Linked DNA regions of Homo sapiens: region 2 is linked to region 1. The links are contacts of gene promoters, found by promoter capture Hi-C in human tissues and cell types (Jung and others, 2019). All regions are on one chromosome and are shown on one strand. Each heading gives the region's core, a stretch centred on a gene start or on the middle of the fragment in contact. The rest is flanking DNA. Distances are from core to core; before and after follow the strand shown.

The links. The method cuts DNA at HindIII sites, captures the fragments that hold promoters and counts their contacts. A contact is called where the count stands out against the background at its distance.
Region 2: a fragment that was not itself captured here is called in contact with the fragment with the promoter of USP29 in region 1 in 3 of the 25 tissues and cell types used here (neural progenitor cells, psoas muscle and spleen).

The regions. Positions count from the first base shown.
Region 1 is chr19:57,118,309-57,121,408 of GRCh38, reverse strand. It overlaps USP29 (ubiquitin specific peptidase 29), which reads right to left and starts at 1,424. Exons shown (of 4, transcript NM_020903.3): 1 at 1,180-1,424. The HindIII fragment of the contact is 14,839 bases long and covers 1-3,100 here.
Region 2 is chr19:57,056,626-57,059,762 of GRCh38, reverse strand. No RefSeq gene overlaps it. Among named protein-coding and RNA genes, the nearest start is that of USP29, 62 kb to the left of the region's middle. The HindIII fragment of the contact is 6,225 bases long and covers 1-3,137 here.

The sequences.
Region 1 (3,100 bases), core at 175-2,674:
TGTATAACATATATAAGTATATATAACATATATAAGTATATAACATAAGTAGATATAACATATATAAGTATATATAATATATAAGTACATAACATATATAAGTATATAACATATATAAGTATATATAACATATATAAGTATATATATAACATATATATCCTACATTTTCAACACGTGTAACAAATGTGGATAGTTTCAAAAAGATCATTTTACGTTCTAGTAGTTACCCTGTTTGACCAAAGTGTAGTACTTTTATTTTTCTATTGCAGTGCATTTTCTTTTTTTTTTTTGGCGGGAGGTGAGGGAGCGGAGCGGGGATGGAGTCTCACTCTGTCACCGAGGCTGGAGTTTAATGGCGTGATCTCGGCTCACTGCAGCCTCTGCTTCCTGGGTTCAAGTGATTCTCCTGCCTAAGCCTCCTGAGTAGCTGGGATTACAGGAGCCCGCCACCACGCCTGGCTAATTTTTTGTATTTTTAGTAGAGACGGGGTTTCGCTATGTTGCCCAGGCAGTCTCGAACTCCTGATCCGCCCGCCTTGGCCTCCCAAAGTTCTGGAATTACAGGAGTGAGCCACCGTGCCCGGCCTTTTTTCTGTTTTTTTTTTTTTTTTTTTTTTTTTGAGACGGAGTCTCTCGCTCTGTCGCCCAGGCTGGAGTGCAGTGGTGTGATCTCGGCTCACTGCAACCTCCACCTCTGGGGTTCAAGTGATTCTCCTGCCTCAGCCTCCCCAGTAGCTGGGATTACAGGCACCCACCATCATGGCCAGCTAATTTTTGTATTTTTAGTAGAGACAGGGTTTCACCTTGTTGGTCAGGCTGGTCTCAAACTCCTGACCTCAGGTGATCTACCCGCCTCGGCCTCCCAAAGTGCTGGCATGACAGGCGTGAGCCACCGACCCAGCCCTTTTTTCTTTTATATAGTTTTTGAGACAGGGTCTTGCTCTGTTGCCCAGGCTGGAGTGCAGTGGTGCGATCATACCTCACTACACCCTCGATCCCCAAGGCTCAAGTCATCCTCCAACCTCTGCCTCCTGACTATCTGACACTACAGGCGTGGGTAATTTTTAAATTTTTTTGAGACATAGTCTCACTTTGTTGTCCAGGCTGGAGTGCAGTGGCATGATCTCAGCTAGCTAATTTTAAAATTTTTTGTAGAGATGGGTGGGGGGAGGGTCTCACTATGTTGCCCAGGCTGGTCTCCAACTCCTGGGCACAAGCGATCCTCCCGCCTCGGCCTCCCAAAGTGCTGGGATTACAGGCATGAGCCTGGCCAGCATTTTCTGTTTGAATGTTTTTACGTAACCGGAGTCGTCATGATGGAGGTACAGTTCCTTGGACTTCCGGCTCCCATGGCTCTGGAAATCTCAGCTCGGACCCGCCCCTTCCGGCGCCGACTCCCCTGATTCTCCTGGGAACAGAAGAGTTCTGGGCACAGCACGCTGCGTCTGCGCAGTGCCGGGCGCAGGCCTCCCGACCTACGGGTCTAGGTACGGGCTCTAGCGTGGCCGGGGCACATAGAGTTCCTGGCCTAGAGCTGGTGGGGCGTAACGGCAGGAGTTAGGGTTCAGAGAAAACCAGCCCAGGGGCGGGTTCATCCTGTTACCCATTCAGCCTCAAGCGAGGTGGGGTGTGGTAGGTGGGCTGGTGCTAGAAACCACGCCGGGAATTGTTAATAACAGTCATCCCGGCCGGGCGCGGTGGCTCACGCCTGTCATCCCAGCACTTTGGGAGGCCGAGGAGGGCGGATCACCTGAGGTCAGGAGTTTGATATTAGCCTGACCAACGTGGCGAAACCCCGTCTCTACTAAAAATACAAAAATCAGCCGGGCATGGTGGTGGGCGCCTGTAATCCCAGCTACTCGGGAGGCTGAGGCAGGAGAATCGCTTGAACCCGGGAGGCGGAGGTTGCAGTGAGCGGAGATGGCGCCACTACAATCCAGCCTGGGCGACAGAGCGAGACTCCGTCTCAAAACAACAACAAAACCCCCAAAAAAGCGGTCATCCTCCAGGTGGAAGAGACAGAAGAGAGGGTGCGGAAGAGACTTAAAAGTCTTAGGCCTTCAAGCGTGTTTGCCTCAGCCACCCGTGAATCCTACAGGAAAACTAAAACAACTCGGCCACAAGCCCCCAAGTCTTGGGGAAGCGGACGGTTTCCCAGCCGAGCTTTAGGAGGAGGCGCCGCGGGACCTCACGGGTGACGTCGTCCCCGGGGGTAGTTTGCGCAGAGGGTCGCTTTGGGCGCGCTTAGAGTCGCGTGGTGCCTGGGCCAGCGAAGCCCAGGTGCAGTCATTTGTGGCCCTGTCCCGGCGCGCGAGGGGCCAAGGCTGGTCGGGGGCCGGGTCCGCGCGGTAGCAACTGCGTCCTGCCAGCTTCCATCTCTCCCTCTGAGGGCCTGAGCGGCTGCCAGAGTCAGGTCTGCAGGCCGGGCGCTCACGCGTCTGTGCCCAGTGAGGCCCCAAGATGCTGGTGAGGCCTCGACCCTGACTGGTGTCCAGGCTCTTGACACTGTCGTGAGAAGGAATTCATGGATGAGCAGAACAAAGTGTGGAGATTCATTGCGACGGGAATAAGTACGTACTGAAGAAAGAAAAGTGCAGGCATACCACAGAGCATCACGCCCAGCGGGGTTTGGAGCTACCTTTAAATATTTATTTAACCAAGGGGTGGAATATTCATGAAGATTCTTGGAAAAAGGTAAACATTTCTTGGTACTGCGGTGCCACACATTTTTATACTAAATACGGGTGTTCCCCAGAGCTGTCACAGTGGGTGTGTGACTTAGTATGTTAATGAGCACATAATGAGAGGTCCTAGGTGAAACGGGTCGAATCCAGCACCATGTTGGGTCCAGTCGGCTTTAGCCAGCTTGGCCCACACCCTGGTTTTCAGAGTCTTATCCGCCCCTAGCTTACGCAGCGATTTCAACGGTTTCCTTTGCTAGTCATGTGAAACTGTTGCCTGGAATTTTCCGTTCTCCTGTGACCACCTTTATTATTCCTGTCTCAAGGGGCACCCCATTTGTGCCTATAAGGAGACTGCATTGGGACCAGGCTCCTGGCTGCTCATGGAGCCTCAGCCAGATGGTTGTGTGCCTGAGTCC
Region 2 (3,137 bases), core at 348-2,847, 62 kb after region 1:
ATATATAGACATCTATAAATATATAAAGATGCATCTATAAATATATAAAGACATCTATAAATATATATAAAGACATCTATAAATATATATAAAGACACATCTATAAATATATATAAAGACATCTATAAATATATATAAAGACGCATCTATAAATATATATAAAGGCATCTATAAATATATATAAAGATGCATCTATAAATATATATAAAGACATCTATAAATATATATAAAGATGCATCTATAAATATATATAAAGATGCATCTATAAATATATATACAAATATATATATAAAAAGATATACATACAAAATATATATTTTTGTTAAGATATAGGGTCTTACTATGTTGCCCAGGCTGGTCTTGAACTACTCTTGGGCTCAAGCGATCCTCCTGTCTTGGCCTCCCAAAGTGCTGAGATTACAGGCATGAGCCACCACACCCCACTGATCCTCTGATTTCTAAGGAGAGCTGATGATGGTAGAGCAATAGTAGAAGAAAGGAAACCAGGTGAGTGACCACTACAACCATCCAGGCAGGAGGCAATGGTGCTTTGAACTAGGAGTGGTGTCTAAACAGGGGTAGAAAAGATGAGGCAGGAGGGAGAGACTTTTCTGACCAGGAAATAGAAGCAAGTTTCTTAAAACCAGGATCAGTCACACGAGGAGACTGATCCAGAGAATTACTGCTGCATGAAATGGCCCAGCTGGTTCCCAAGGCATTTTTGTGTTGCCATCTGACTCAGGAAGGGGGACAATGTTTTTGGACTGAGAACCACGCGGTCAGAATTCTGGGCTGGATACGGTGACACACGCCTGTAATCCCAGCACTTTGGGAGGCCGAGGTGGGTGGATCACCTGAGGTCAGGAGTTTGAGACCAGCCTGACCAACATGGTGAAATCCCATCTCTACTAAAAATAGAAAGAAATTTAGCCAGGTATGGCGGCATGTGCCTGTAGTCCCAGCTACTCGGGAGACTGAGGTAGGAGAATCGCTCGAACTTGGGAGGCAGAAGTTGCAGTGAGCCAAGATCACGCCACTGCACTCCAACCTGGGCGACAGAGCTAGACTCTGTCAAAAAAAAAAAAAAAAATTCTGGAGTTGCCATTTCTAAACCATAAAAACATGTGCAAGCTGGTTGTGGTCCTCCAAACTATATCTCTAAATCCTCTTTTCCAGCAGCTTTTCTCTAATTTCCAAACAATGACCATCTTCTCTAACGTGTTGCTTTGTATCTTGGGTGCTCGAAACAGTAAGTTCTCAGTAAACCCCAGCTATTCTGCTGCCGTTCTTGCTTCTTATTTTATTATGATTTTTCCACCAGTCTGGAGCATTCAGTACGGGATACATTTTGCTATTACATACCACACATGACATTGACTATATTACTTGTTTTTTGGTCTGTGTCTTCCATTAGATGGTGAGTATCTCAGGGGCAAGGACCATGTCCTAATGCCCAAAACAGTTCCTAGCAAAGAGTCAATAATCAATAAATGCCTGTAGAACCAGATCATAGCATATCTAATGCATAACTCCCAAGCAATGAGCTGCATTTCCCTAGTGTATTCTATAGCTTCAGTTTTGTGGGTAAAAATGCTTATGCAAGCTGCTCTTTTTCCAGCAATAGACAGTATCAGGTAGTGACCTTCCAAGGGCACATATGCATGGGGCTTTGGTTCAGAAGTCAGCTTTCTGCAAGAGTCTTTACAAAACACAGATATGGAAATGTTTATGGAGGACATGGTATCATGTCTGGGATTTGCTTTACAAACAATGCCAGTGATGTGATGGGGGTATAGACACAACAGGTTGGGCCATGAGCTGATGACTGCAGACAATGAGTAGAAGGGATTTCTTATGCTATTTTGCCTACCTTTGTATATTCTCAAACTTTTTCCATGATACTGCCCCCCCGTCCATCCCTTCTCACAAGCAAAGCCAAGGTAATCTTTCCACACAACAGATAGGACAACATCATTCTCCCATTTCAAATTCCCACTACCTTGTGGAAAGAATCAGAAAGAGGCAAATCTTGCTTAATTCTCACCACACTCAGGGCTTCGAATGCTTATCGGTTTCATGGGAAGAAAATGAAATACTGATAAAACCTGCGATGACATCTTTGGCTCCAGCAGTTATAGGCTTTCCTCCTTGGGGAGCAGCGTTCACAGCTATTTTCCCTTCTGCAAGCATTTTACTGCAAAGCAATTGTGAATGATGAATTGAGCATCTCAGAAATCATCAGCAATATATTCTGAGCAAACTGCCGAAAGGAAGCTTCGCCCAGCAATTCCCAAACCAGCAGTTGTTTATCATGTGTGCGGCCTATATGTAATTGGGATTCTGTGTTCCATTTCTTTGGGTACCTCCAAAGCTGTCTGCATCATGATTCTCCAGGGACTCAGAAAACAAAAGTGTTCTCCATCTTTTGAAGCGAATAAAGTTCTATAACGCAAACCTTGAAGGTCACGTTTCCCAGGGGCGGACATACCTAAAGCATGTGTCATAGGATCAGCTTTCCTTACAGCTAATCCCCCCAACAGCTGGGCTGGCTCTGTGACCTGTCAGACTGCTTCTGACCAGCCCGTGGTCCTTCACGGAAGGCTACGGGGATCGAGCTGACTGCCTTGATCAGCGGCAGCTGCTGCAAGCTGTTGGCAAGGGAGCTGCTGTTGATAGCCTTGAGCTGCATGAAATTTGTCACAGATGACGAGTCAACGTATAATTCACCCTTGCTGTGTAATTCTGAAAGGCACTCCCCCGTAATGAAAAGGGAGACATTATTTGAGGCATCCTTGGTCACTCTCCAACTTGCCCTATAGCAAATTATTCCACCCACCATGAGGGTCTTAGGACACACACCCACATTTTCCCAAAATTAGAGACGTGGCTTTACTGACTTTTTGTGGATAGAGGACCCTAGGAATCCAGATAAAGCCTCCAGGTATCCTTTCAGAAGAACAGGAATGTTTTAACAAAATACGACAACAACAACAACAACAACAACCCAAACTCCAGAAGACTCCAGCAGCAAGAATGGCTTGTGGGTCTTTTTCTTTTCTTTCTTTCTTTTTTTTTTTTTTTAATTTATTTTAGGTTCAGGGATACATGCGGAGGTTTGTTATATAGGTAAAGTGCGT